Linked DNA regions of Homo sapiens: region 1 is linked to region 2. The links are contacts of gene promoters, found by promoter capture Hi-C in human tissues and cell types (Jung and others, 2019). All regions are on one chromosome and are shown on one strand. The core of a region is centred on a gene start or on the middle of the fragment in contact, and the rest is flanking DNA. Distances in the headings are between cores, read along the strand shown.

Evidence for each region. The method cuts DNA at HindIII sites, captures the fragments that hold promoters and counts their contacts. A contact is called where the count stands out against the background at its distance.
Region 1: a contact is called between a fragment that was not itself captured here and the fragment with the promoter of TMEM42 in region 2, in 4 of the 25 tissues and cell types used here (heart right atrium, mesenchymal stem cells, psoas muscle and 1 more).

What each region holds. Positions count from the first base shown.
Region 1 is chr3:44,808,887-44,815,689 of GRCh38, reverse strand. It overlaps KIF15 (kinesin family member 15), which reads right to left. Exons shown (of 35, transcript NM_020242.3): 17 at 4,647-4,844; 18 at 3,401-3,508; 19 at 2,510-2,615; 20 at 614-779. Among named protein-coding and RNA genes, the nearest start is that of MIR564, 50 kb to the left of the region's middle. The HindIII fragment of the contact is 4,882 bases long and covers 1-4,727 here.
Region 2 is chr3:44,858,353-44,865,456 of GRCh38, reverse strand. TMEM42 (transmembrane protein 42) reads right to left here and starts at 3,545. Exons shown (of 3, transcript NM_144638.3): 1 at 3,341-3,545; 2 at 1,114-1,260; 3 at 1-417. The coding sequence starts at 3,532. The coding sequence ends at 277. MIR564 (microRNA 564) reads right to left here and starts at 3,569; the gene lies at 3,476-3,569. It also overlaps a transcript of KIF15 not described here. RefSeq lists silencers at 3,036-3,085, 3,416-3,465 and an enhancer at 3,496-4,085. The HindIII fragment of the contact is 28,079 bases long and covers 1-7,104 here.

The DNA of each region.
Region 1 (6,803 bases), core at 1,037-3,536, 49 kb after region 2:
TGTTTCAAGATATCAGCACTTGACTAATCAGCCAGCCTTTGTAGAGTTAGTGTGCACAGCAGTGAAGACTATTGTTTTGGTTTACCTTATACTGACTGTCCTTTCTTCTAGTAAGAGCACACCTTTCCCTCCAGAGCAGGCACATTACTCTATGTCAGGCCAGTGCCATCTCAAACCTGGTAAAGTGACTGGTCCAAAGGTGAGCAGATGACTCAAGCAAAACCAATTCAGATTTTCTCTGGGATAATACATGGCTATTGGGAGAGAGAATTTCTTTACAGGGGTTTTTATCCTGGGAACCAAAATATGGAGCTGTGTGAGGCAATCTGTTCCTTGTCACATAGAAGAAGGACCTCAGTAATAGGAGGGAATAAGAGCAACACATAGAACTGAGCATAGCTGAGAGAGATAGAACACTGACAATATTGCTTGAGACTCAGACTAGTTTGTTCCTGAAACCAAAATCACCTCTGGGGCTTCCAATATTGGAGCCAATAAATTATCTTTTTTATTTGTCTAACTGCTTTGAGTTGAGTTTATAACACTTCCAACTTCAAACAGTCGTAGGTTACAGCCAATCAGGCAACTTGAAACCATAAAAGAACAACTCTACCTGAGATTATCTAATTGAAGCTGTACATGCATGTGTCTTTCGGAAAGTTTGTTGAATTCTTTCTCCTGATTCGTTTTGAATGAACTATATTCCAATTTCACTGAAGAAAGCTCCTTGTCAGCAGAATGAAGGACTACTCGCAGGTCATGTACCTCACTTTTCAAAACTAAAAAACAAAGAAAACATATCCTCAGTAGGTTTCTTAAAGCAGACAAATAAATCTGATAGGTACTAGTCCCACAATTAGCAAAATCAAGTCGAAGAGACTATTTTAAGGAAAAATGTTAAAGAATTAAGTGGCGGGTACCTAGCAGCACTGAGATTTCTATTTTCTTCCTCTCCCTTGCACATGGTTTTTCGTAAATTTCTACTGAAATAGAAAGCATTAACATCTGTCCCTGACTTACAGGTCACTTGACTTTGCTAGATTTCTCCTGTAAAATGTGCTTCAAAACTCCTAATATAAGGGCAGACACAGTGGCTTATGCCTATAATCCCAGTACTTTGTGAGGCTGAGGCAGGCGAAATGCTTGAGGTCAGGAGTTCGAGACCAGACTGAGCAACATGGCAAAACCCTGTCTCTACCAAAAATACAAAAAATTAGCTGGCTGTGGTGGTGAGCACCTGTGGTCCCATCTACTCAGGAGGCTGAGGTGGGAGGATCGCTTGAGCCTGGGAGTTGGAGGTTACAGTGAGCCGAGATTGCACCCACTGCACTCCAGCCTGGGTGACAAAGTGAGACTCTGTCTCAAAACAAACAAACAAACAAAACTCTTAATATAAGAAAAAAAAATTAAAAGATGTAACATATTTTGAGTGAGCTCATCTTAGTTATTGAAAATCCCTTGGAAATTTGCCTAAACTTTCCAACATGGGTTAACTACTTCAGGTCTTCTAAGACAACTACAACTGCAAATAGTATTAGTTAACTTTTTAGTTCAAAGAAAATAGAATGGCTATCTCTTTTTGTTTTAGCTTTATTACAAACCACTGCAAATACTTTAATGAAGGGAAAAATAAAGTGAAAAAATTGGGAATCAAATGATATTCCCACATCTACAAACATATACAAATATATAACCTACGCTTTGTTAATATTAAAACATTCATGAATTCAAGACACTTCATTTTCAAAGCAGCTTATCTAAAACTTTAAGCAGGCTGGGCACAGTGGCTCACGCCTGTAATCCCAGCACTTTGGGAGGCCGAGGTGGGTGGATCACCTGAGGTCAGGAGTTCATGACCAGCCTGGCCAACATGGCGAAACCGTGTCTCTCCTAAAATTAGCCGGGCTTGGTGGTGCACGCCTATAATCCCAGCTACTTGGGAGGAGACAGGAGAACTGCTTGAACCCAGGAGCTGGAGGTTGCAGTGAGCCGCCGAGATCCCGCCACTGCGCTCCAGCCTGGGTGACAAAGCAAGACTCCACCTCAAAAAAAAAAAAAACAAAACAAACAAAACAAAAAAAAAATGACCAAAGAAAAAAAAAATTAGCCAGGCATGGTAATGCACTCCTGTAATCCCAGCTACTACTCAGGAGGCTGAGGTGGGGAATCGCTTGAACTCGGGAGGTGGAGGTTGCAGTGAGCCAAGATCATGCCACTGGACTCCTGCCTGGGTGACAAAGCGAGAGTCTGTGTCAAAAACAAACAAACAACAAAAAACTTTAAGCAAACATTTGTATCATTTGTTTGTGGGCAATGATAGAGAAATTTACCTTTTATGATATATTACTGTTACTTACCACTGCATGCAAACTGCAGTCTGGTTATCAAACAAACAACAACAACAAAGCAACCATCCAAAAACATAGGAACAGCATTTATTAATAAAAGTAAAAAGATATTGAGTTACAGTATTCCTTCAAGTCACAAAGCTCCTGATAGAATAACTTACAGTCATTTTTAGTTTGAGTCTCTTGAAGCTGCTTTTCAAGGACATTCAACTGTGAGAGAAGCTCTTCCTGCTGTTTGGTCCAATCAATTCTTTCTGATGAGAAAAGCTTTGGGAAAAAAGATAAATTTACTGGAAAAGGAATACTGGCATGCTAAGATGCACTCCAAATCATTAACCTGTTTCTTTTTTTTTTTTTGAGACAGAGTCTTGCTCTGTCACCCAGGCTGGAGTGCAGTGATGCGACCTCGGCTCACTTCAACCTCCGCCTCCTGGGTTCAAGTGATTCTCCTGCCTCAGCCTCCTGAGTAGCTGTGACTACAGACCCACGCCACCACGTCCAGCTAAGTTTTGTATTTTTAGTAGAGACGGGGTTTCGCCACCTTGGCCAGGCTGGTCTTGATCTCTTGACCTCAGACGATCCACCTGCCTTGGCTTCCCAAAGTGCTGGGATTACAGGTGTTAGCCACTGTGCCTGGCCCCATTAACCTGTCCCTGTTTTTAAAGTCTAGCTTTAACGTCTCTGACCAGAAGAAAATTGGCTGTCCCCATGAACTACAGTAAAGATGATTAACAACTATGAAGCCATGGACAGTCCATCTTGGTTTCTTCTAAACACATAGCAAGGGATCCATTTGCATTATTGACTAAGTCAGCCAGGTTTAGACTATGCATGCCTGTCTCATTATCAGAGCAGCATGCTAAGTAACAAGGTAGAGAATACAGCTCAAATAAGCCTTCACTAAGGCCATGTGACAACATTTTCTTTCTGTGATACTCTCTGAATATGTTTCATGCATACTCAAGGATGTTTGAGGATCCTTGAGGATGTTTCCTCAAGGTAACATTTGAGGGTACTTCATACATTTTCTGAGGCTGTGCTCTTGGTCTCACCTCCTGCATTTGGGTAGAATGATGTTCCAGTTTGTCAACATGCTGCTGAAGCTTTAGGTTTTTATGCTCTTCTTCATCCAGTTTGGCTTGAAGAGCACTCATTTGTTCCTGCAACACAAAAACTTCAGTCATCAAAATTTATTTTAATGGAATTCTCAAACATTCCACCATTTCGTCTGCATTAAAGAGACAACAAAACAAAACAAAACAAATTCAAAACCTCATATGAACAAAGGTATCAAAGGCCTGTTTGGAGCCAGAAAACATCATCAAAAGGTTATATACTAAATGATTGCTAATGTTTCAGATTTACACTTGTGGTCCATTAAAGTAGACACTTTGAAATACAAAGGAAAGAAGTGATTAAAATTAAAATCCTGGATTACATGACAGAGCCATCTTGAGACTTCTAAGAAGCTTCCTCAGGGCTGCAAGCGGTTACCTCCATGGCCTGGAAAGGACAAAATACTGGGGTTTGGGGTGGTCTGGCCCACTCCAACTTTTACTGGACAGTAGAAAACCTTTTTAAAAAATTAACAAACCATAAAAATTCTGGAATAATCAAATTTCACATTATTTCAAATATATTAAAAACTGTCTAAAATTTGATCTATAATAAGATTCTTTTAACTTTCTTTTTTTTTGAGACAGAGTTTCACTCTTGTTGCCCAGGCTAGAGTGCAGTGGCGCGATCTCGGCTCACTGCAACCTCCGCCTCCCGGGTTCAAGCAATTCTCCTGCCTCAGCCTCCCGAGTAGCTGGGATTACAGGCATGTACCACCACACCCGGCTAATTTTGTCTATTTAGTAGAGACGGGGTTTCACCATGTTGGTCAGGCTAGTCTCAAACTCTTGATCTCACGTGATATGCCTGCCTCAGCCTCCCAAAGTGCTGGGATTACAGGCGTGAGCCACCGCACCCGGCCTCTTTTAACTTTTTTTAGCAGATACAGCACTTTGCTATATAAACCAGTTCTGGAACTTGGAGCTAGTGGCCAACTGGTCATTTTATACACTAAGGAACAAAAACCCATGGAGAATGACTTGCTAAAGATTGTAAAGTAGAGACAAAAAGCAAGAGTGGGCTGATTTCCAATCTAGGAATGATTATAAACCCACACTTAAAAAGATATGATTTTAATACTAAGCACTTTTGAACACTGTAACTTATAGGGAATTAAAATAACAAAGCAAATGTATTTAAATGGATGTCCAGTTATTTATTTTTTCTAGAACAAAACATTACCTGCACTGTTCTAAGCTCTTCAGAAATGGCCTCAAAAGCTTGTTCATTCATCTCAGGAGGAACTGGCTCATTTAATATATCATTATCTAATATGCTAGAATTCTGAGTGTATAGAGAGCCAAAGCTTCCCATTTCAGGGCTTAATTTTGGTACTGGTCGGGAATGAAGTTGGTAGGCCTTGGTTGGTGTAGTTATAATCTGCAGCAAAAAATGATTATGGAAAACATTAGCACATATTTAAAAAGGGCATATTTAATAATTTTGTGAATAGAGAGGATAAAATTGAAATACTATTCATGAAAAGAAAGGAAAAAGTACCCTTGAGACACAGTACAAAAATGCCCAAGTGGAAATAAATTTATCAATTCAATGCAGTCCCAAGCAAAATTCTAATACAATTTTTAAAAATAAACTTAATGAGCTGATATCTATTTTCATACAAAGAATAAATGTACAAGAAGAGACAAGACAATTAAAAAGAACAAGCCAGGCATGGTGGTTCATGGCTATAATCCCAACACCGTGGGAGGCTGAGAAGGGGAGGATCACTTGAGGCCAGGAGTCCAAGACCAGGCTGGGCAACATAGTGAGATCCTGTCTCTACCAAAAAAAAAAATCATTTTAATTAGCTGGGCATGGTGTCCCAGGCCTGTAGTCCCAGCTACTTGGGAAGCTGAGGCAGGAGGATCCCCAGAGCCCAGGTGTTCTAGGTTGCAGTGAGCTATTATCACACCATTGCACTCCAGCCTGAGTGACAGACTGAGACCCTGTCTCTCAAAAAAATAAAAATAAAAAGAACAAATTAGGAAGACTTCCCCATCTGATATAAAAATACATAGGGGTATGGGAGTATGGTCATTAAAATAGTACATTACATTACAGTACATTATATTAAAACAGTACATTAGCTTATGTACATTCAAATAGAACACTGGGAGGAAATACAAAGTCCAGAAATAGAATTATTATTATTTTTTGAGACACAGTCTTGTTCTGTTGCCCAGGCTGGAGTGCAGTGGTGTAATCTTGGCTCACCACAACCTCTGCCTCCCAGGTTCAAGCAATTCTCCTGCCTCAGCCTCCCAAGTAGCTGGGACTACAGGCACACACCACCATGCCTGGTTAATTTTTGTAGTTTTAGTAGAGATGGGGTTTCACCATGTTGGCCAGGCTGGTCTCCAACTCCTGGCCTCAAGTGATCTGCCCGCTTTGGCCTCCCAAAGTGCTAGAATTACAGGCGTGAGACACCACACCCCGCCCAGAAATAGAATAATCTTTCTGTGGAAATTTTAGGTATCAGGAGTAGTTGAGACCAAAGGTGCACACCACCATGCTTGGCTAATTTAAATTTTTTTTTTTTTTGCAGAGGTAGGGTCTTACTATGTTGCCCAAGCTGGTCTTGAACTCCTAGATTCAAGCAATCCTCCTGCTTCTGCCTCCCCAAGTGTTAAGATTACAGGTGTGAGCCACTATGCCTAGCTGTATTACTTTTTTTAAGTTAAATCCCTTTCTCATACCATTCAAAAGAAAAACAGTGGATACACAAACACCTCAATGTAAAGCAAAATTAAAGGCAAAAAAGTCATAAAGATAAAAGGTCAATAAACCTGGCTACATCAAAAATATAAAACTTCTATATAACAAAAGCATCACATGCAAAGATGAAAGACAAGCAACATGATGGAGGAATATATTGGCAGTACACCTAACAAACAAATGCTTATTACATAAAAACAAAATCTGAAGAAAAATATAAAAAAACAATAGTTTTTCTTTTCAGGGAATAGGATATACAAATGGACATGAACATATGAAAAGATATTTGAAATTAGAGAAATGAGAATTAAAACCTTAACAACAAGATCTCATTTTTTACCCATCAGATGGTCAAACATTAACAAGCATGACAATCCCAGTTCCTGCGGACAGTGCTGGGAAAGGAGTGCATCTATGCATCTATGCTGCGGGAACAGGGCACTAGGAGGGAGCTTCAGCTTGACTCACTCAAATGCTAAGACATCCTAAAATGACCACTTCTCCTTTAACGGAATCCACCCCCAGAGAATGCACGCACTGGAAACCATCTACTTAAGCCATAGAAACCTAGGGTTAAAATGAGGTAGGTACCAGTTAATATGGAAAGATCCAAGGCATATC
Region 2 (7,104 bases), core at 2,296-4,795:
CCCCAGGATCTCCAGCATCTGCGAAGGCTCACTGGGGTAGGCCTGGGAGGAAGAATCCAAAGCACTGTACAGATGATCAAAACACTTCCGGTAGAACACTGCTGCAGCTGCACCTCTCCTTACAGAGCCAGAGCCTGCTCCATCAGAGGCCTGCTTCCCTTGGCTGATGGTCAGAAGGCTGCACAACTGGATCGCCCTAGGATACAGTCCCACATGACATCCCAAGGCTGGGCCACCATCATGATCTTTCCAGCTGGTCCGTCTAGCCAAGTGGTGCTACTGCTGCTTGTGTGGAAGGGGCTTCCAGGTGGGTGGGAGCTTCCTGTGGATTAGGGTGAGTCCGCAGAGAATAAGGAACACTCCTCCCCACCACAAGACCTCCTGGCACTCTCCATACAGCACATAGCCCAGGAAGGCCTGCGAGACAAAGATAGCTGTGAGGGACTCAACTTCAGCAGGTGGGCACAACCTCACTCTCCTGGGACTGACTTCCTTCTAAGGGTGCCAGGAGGAAAGGTCTGGAGCCAGAAGCCTTGGGCTTGAAACCTAGCTGTCACCTTCATCAAGTCACTCTATTCAATCTCCCCTGCATGAGTGGAGAGGCTACCTCCCTCACTGCACTGGACCTCAGCAAAGTACACAAGAAAGACCCAGCAGATGCCAGCAGGTAGACACAGCAGGTACATGGTATTTGTTTCTCCCTCAACTCAAGATTGACTACGCTCAGCTCCATCTTGTCAACCTCAGACTACACAGGGCAGAAAAGTTTCTGGGAATCCCAACCCTCTAAATGCCATGGAGCCTTGAGTACACAGAACCCTAGGAAACAGCTAGGATGCACAGTGACTTCAGAATGAGGGCTCCACCCTGGAGGAACAGCAAGCAAGTAGGCTTTTTACTGTCAGGCTTCACTCATATCTAACTTAAGAATTCTTCCATGATTAGAATTACATTTGCTCCATGAATAGAGCACTCATCCAGGGGTCAAGCCACAGCCCAACCTCTGCTTCAGTTCCTGTCCTTTCTCCTGTCTGGGAAAGGAGGGGTTATCCAAAGACAACTCACCCAGAACCCAGATTTAGGACAAGAGCACCACACCCTCAGGCTACTCACCGAGCTGAGGATATTTGAAAAAGTCACTGTGACAGATGCAATGGCTGAAGACATGGAGAAACTGAGGCCCCGGCTAAAGAAGGTCCACATCAGAGAATTGGTGCTCGCCATCACAATAATGCCTAAGACGCATAAACCCATGCTCACCTGCAGGAGAAAGTGTCACTGCAGCCACGTCCACCCTGGGCAGCAACCTGCAGACCCCCTCAAAGCACACCCAGGACTGTGGTTGCTGGCACCCAGGCTCCTACTGAGCTCCCACTACAGCTCAGAGGGCCTCAGAGCTTTCCTGCACAGGGCTTCACTTAACCCTCAGTGGGCAGCAGACCCATCTTACAAATAAAGCAAATTCAGAGAAGATACTCATTTGGCCACCTTGCTGGCCATATGATCTTGGGAAGAAGCAAAATGCTAATCCAAAGCCAGTATTTTCTACTGAACACCGGCCCCTTATTGGTCCCACAATGACCAGTGCTTGAAGATCAGTCCCAGAGGGCCAAGTAGTTCTTACTCCGTAGGTAGTAAGCCTAGGGTAGAGTTCTTATTTCTTGAGATCAGGCAAAGCATGAATTAGCAATGTCTGCTCTGTATTCCCACCCCCAAATCCTATACAAGTTACAGCCCACTAAGGCTGACCCCCTCTGGGTATTCTTGAGCTTTTACTCTGTGTTAGGTCCTGGGCTGTGTTTAAGCATTCTCATTTATTCCTTAACTTCATTTTACAGATAAAGAGCCAGGGGCATTAAGTAACCTTCCTAAAGTGCTACAGCGGTGAGAGCCACCAGGCTTCACAAGCAGGCAGTGTACCTCCATGCTCTTAACTAGGGCACAGCCTTGCCTGAGGGAAACACCACCTCAGACTATTTAGTGATCCCAGACATCCCTTGGAGAACTTGCAGGTATTTTCTTTCTTTTTTTTTAAAGGAGAAAGTCTCAAGAGAAGAGAAGATCTTTAGAAGCCTCCTACACAAAGGATATGCAGTCCCCCTTGCTTGGTGGTGAGTTAGAAACCTGCCTGGAGACAAGGCGGCGGGGGGGGGGGGTGCGGAATCTAAATATACTTATTACTTGTAATGGTTTCTCAGCAGCTGAACACATAGTGTCTTGAGAAAAAGGTGCTTGCTTATAACTTACACCAGGGTGTTCAATTTTTTGGCTTCCCTGGGCCACACTGGAAGAACTGTCTTGGGTCACACATATAATACACTAACACTAATGATATATGATGAGCTAAAAAAAAAATAATAAATCGCAAAAAAATTCATGTTTTAAATTTGCAAATTTGCGTTGGGCCGCGAGTTGGACAACCTTGTCTTACACAAAGCAGCATATGGGCCAGTGGCAACCTGCTTAAAGGGTTATGAAGGTCTAGTTCCTGACAACAAACTTCACGGCCCATACAAAGTTATTCATTTTACTTTCGACCACTTACCCCATGAACTACACCCAATGGGATACTAACCTGAAGCATGGCAGCTACTACTGGATTAGCCCTAAATAGGCTTAACCCTAAATAATCAGTGACCACTGTCCAGGTCAGAGGCTAACCTTGGGCTGCAGACGCAATGAAACCCCTATAGCAAGCAGAGGCTGGTCTACGACGTGGGAGGGAGAGGCAGAGATACACCTTAGCAGACGCCAGGATGCAAGTTTAGGAGTTCTCAGCGTCAGGAAAACATCCAGAACGTCTCTGTCAGTATCCTCTTATGCCTACAGTATCCCAAACTCCCAATTTTCCTGGTAGTGGGGCAGACTGGTCATCTGGTCACAACACCCGTTAATTACGGAGTAAAGGGATGGGCAAGAGGCTTCTCACCTTAAGAGTCACGTGGAGAGAAATGCTCAGGCACAAGGGACTTAAAATGAGAGGTAGAGGGTGGATGTAGGAGGTGTAGTTCTTCCCCGAGAGCGAACTAGCCCAACCGGAGAAAAGGTTTTAGGTCCCTGGTAAGGGAAGAGGCCTCAGTCCCCGACGTCTCTTACCACCTACACTGGACGAGGGTTTGGCGTGATTAGAGGCGAAACACTCTCTGCCACCCCAGCTGACCGCAGCGCCGCCCGCGGCCCGGGGCCCCGGCGGGACAGACCGGCGAGGGTGCGGCGGCGCCCTGCGCCCACCCCCGCCCCACCCCAAGAGCCCCGCGGGCCCCGCAGCGCCCCTCCTCCGCCCAGCGGCGCCCCGCCCGCCCGCCCGCAGCAGCAGCACCAACAGCGCCCCGGGCTCGACCTCGCTGCCGAAGGCCAGCTTGGCGGAGGCGGCGGCCAGGGCCCCGAACGCGCCGGCGCACAGACAGTTGAATACGCCCCAAAAGCGGCGCCGCATCGCACCCGCCTGGAGGTGCGGAGGGAATTCCGCGGGGGTGTCAGGGTACGCGGTCGCGGACACGGCGCCGCCCGGAGGCCCCGGCCTCTCGGCCATGTTGCCTGCTGACACCGTGCCTGGCACCCGCTGCCCGCAGGGCAGAGCGCGCGCCGCGATTGGATGGCAGCCTCACGTGACGCGACGCTCCTGTGACGCCACGCTCCGGCAGGCCCCTTGGGAATCGCTCTCCGGCGCCTCGGAGGGGGCGGGCCAGGTGGCAGAGACCCTGGGCTGTGGCGGCCTCCGGCCTAACCTGTAGTAGGTTTGTGCTCTGGGGAGGACGTCGGGACCCGAGGCCTGAGGCCAAGCCGGGTACTGTGGACGCTGTGGTAGAAGGTAAACTTCTCGCGGCTTAGCCGTCTCCATCCCGGCCACCCGGCTCCCGGTGAAACTTATTAAAGATGCCTAACGGGCCCCGCGCCGGCCCACCGAGTCCATCCACGTCGACCAGGCTTCTCCGCTCCACCCTCCAGCCTGAGGACCGCCGGACCAAGAGATGCCTCGGCAGAGGGCGCTGGGGACCTCCAGACCCAGAAAGACGCCAGAGCCCCATATGGGGACAAGCGCATCACAGAAAACCGAAAAAATGAGGATCTGCGATGAGAGGAAGACAATGATCCATAATCAAGCCACGCAGAATCAACATGACTTCTAATCTCCTGTTATACTTACGTATGTTTAGAATGTTTCCGGCTGGGCGTGGTGGCTCATGCCTGTAATCCCAGCACTTTGGGAGGCCGAGGCGGGTGGATCACCTGAGGTCGGGAGTTCGAGACCAGCCTGACCAACATAGAGAAACCCCGTCTCTACTAAAAATACAAAATTAGCCGGGCGTGGTGGTGCATGCCTGTAATCCCAGCTACTCGGGAGGCCGAGGCAGGAGAAGCGCTTGAACCTGGGAGGTGAAGGTTGTGGTGAGCTGAGATCATGCCATTGCACTCCAGCCTGGCCAACAAGAGTGAACTCCGTCTCAAAAAATAAAAATAAAAATAAAATGTTCCCATTTAAAAAGTACACGTCCTTGAAAATAAAGTGTTGAAATGTATAAAGTGCTATTTCCACTCTCCAGGAAAATCAGTGTTAATAGAGCATTTTTCTATATGTCTATTTAGTTATATATAGTTAAAATGTTAAAAAAATTATAGAATATGTATATGCATTTTTTAAACAAAAATGATTTCACAGTTGAACATACTGTTTAGCAGCATTCTTTTTGTATCTTCTGTTTAGCAAGTTTTTATGGAAGTCCTTCCACACCATGCTGCTTCTCTCACAGGGTGGTTTTGTGGCTCAAATAAAAGCACGGATAAGGCCAGGCACGGTGGCTCACGCCTGTAATCCCAGCACTTTGGGAGGCCAAAGGTGGGTGGATTACGAGGTCAGGAGTTCAAGACCAGATTGGTCAAGATGGTGAAACTCCATCTCTACTAAAAATACAAAAAAAATTAGCTGGGTGTGGTGGCGGGCACCTGTATTCCCAGCTACTTGGGAAGCTGAGGCAGAGAATTGTTTGAACCCAGGAGGCAGAGGTTGCAGTGAGCCGAAATTGCACCACTGCCCTCCAGCCTGGGTGACAGAGTAAGGCTCTGTCTCAAAAAAAAACACGGATAATTTCAGTAACGCCAATATGGTACAAACTGTCCCATTTTGCAGATGAGGAAATTGAGGCTCAGAGGTCTCACTGCACCACTCCATTGAGTAAGGAGCTGCTCAAAGATGATACCCTCTGAAAGCTCTTATCAGGAAATCAAGAGGTGTTGCATTGATCAACTCTGCATGCTTTAAAGAATGTAAAGCAAATTTTCTTAGAACAAACGATGCCTCTACTAGCACTAAAGGTTAAGCATCTCAGAGCCACCTCCTCTGTAAAGCCGTCTCTGCTACTCCCCTACCTTTGTACCAGTCCTGTGGTTGTTCCTCTGGTTGTCTGTTTCTCTGCTAGCCTGCAAGCTCCTTGAGGGCAGGGACTACATCGTTGTTAATCTCCAGGTCCCCAGCCCTGGTGATGATGGCTGAAGTGATGCCATCCTCAGACACTGCTGGGAAGTGATTTCTGCCTCTAAGAAACTCCTGTGTACACACATCACCTAGGGATCTTGCTAAGATGAAGATTCTCATTAGGTCTAGAGCTAGACTGAATTTTGTTTGTTTTTAGAGGGAGACAGAGTCTCTCTGTCACCCAGGCTAGAGTGCAATGGTGTAATCATGGCTCACTTCAGCCTTGAGCTCCCAGGCTGAAGCCATCCTCTCAGCTCAGCCTCCTGAGTAACTAAGACTACAGGCAGGTACCATCAAGCCCAGATTATATATATATGTATTTTTTGAGACAGGGTCCTGCTCTGTCTGCCAGGCTGGAGTACAGTGGTGGATCATAGCTCACTGCAGCCTCAACCTGCTGGGCTCAAGTGATTCTCCCACTTCAGCTTCCTGAGTAGCAGGGACTATGGGTGCATCATGCCTGGCTAATTTTTGTATTTTTTGTATAGACAGGATTTTGACATGTGGCCCAGGCTGGTCTTGAACCCCTGGGCCCAAGTGATCCACCCACCTTGGCCTCCCAAAGTGCTGGGATTACGGACATGAGCCACCGCACCCAAGCCGCCAGCTCCAAAAATTAGATTCCAGCCCTCAAAACCCACAACAGGACCTAATTAACCTCGCCTTCAAGGTGTACAATAATAGAGTAAAGGCAGCCAAGTAGCAATGTTTTTCTGAGTTGCAATTAGTTGCCTCCACTGTGAGAGAAACCCCAGCCACATCTCCAGCACACAAGAACTTCAAAACGTCTGAACCGCAGTGGCCAGGCTTTCCTCCAGGACCGCCTCCCACAGGAGCTTGCTTAAAGTGCCATAAATCTGGCCACTGGGCCAAGAAATGCCCACAGCCCTGGGATTCCTCCTAAGCCGTGTCCCAACTGTGCGGGACCCCACTGGAAATCAGACTGTCCAGCTTGCCCTGCAGCCACTCCCAGAGCCCCTGGAACTCTGGCCCGGGGCTCTCTGACTGACTCCTTCCCATATCTTCTCAGCTTAGCAGCTGAAGACTGATGCTGCCCGATCGCCTTGGAGGCCCCCTGGACCGTCACGGACACCGAGCTTCGGGTAACTTTTACAGTGGAGGATAAGTCCATCCCCTTCTTAATCAATACAGAGGCTACCAACTCCACATTATCTTCTTTTCAAGGGCCTGTTTCCCTTGCCTCCATAACTGTTGTGGGTATTGACGGCTAGGCTTCTAAACCTCTTAAAACTCCCCAACTCTGGTGCCAACTTGGACAACGTTCTTTAATGCACTCCTTTTTAGTTATCCCCACTTGCCCAGTTCCCTTATTAGGCTGAAATATTTAACCAAATTATCTGCTTCCCTGATTATTCCTGGACTACAGCCACATCTCATTGCCACCCTTCTTCCCAACCGAAAGCCTCCTTTGTGTCTTCCTCTCGTATCCCCCCCACCTTAACCCACAAGTATGGGACACCTCCACTCCCTCCCTGGCAACCCATCACACGCGCATTACTATCCCATTAAAACCTAATCACCCTTACCCTGCTCAATGCCAGTATCCCATCCCACAACAGGCTTTAAGGGGATTAAAGCCTGTTATCACTCGCCTGCTACAGCATGGGCTT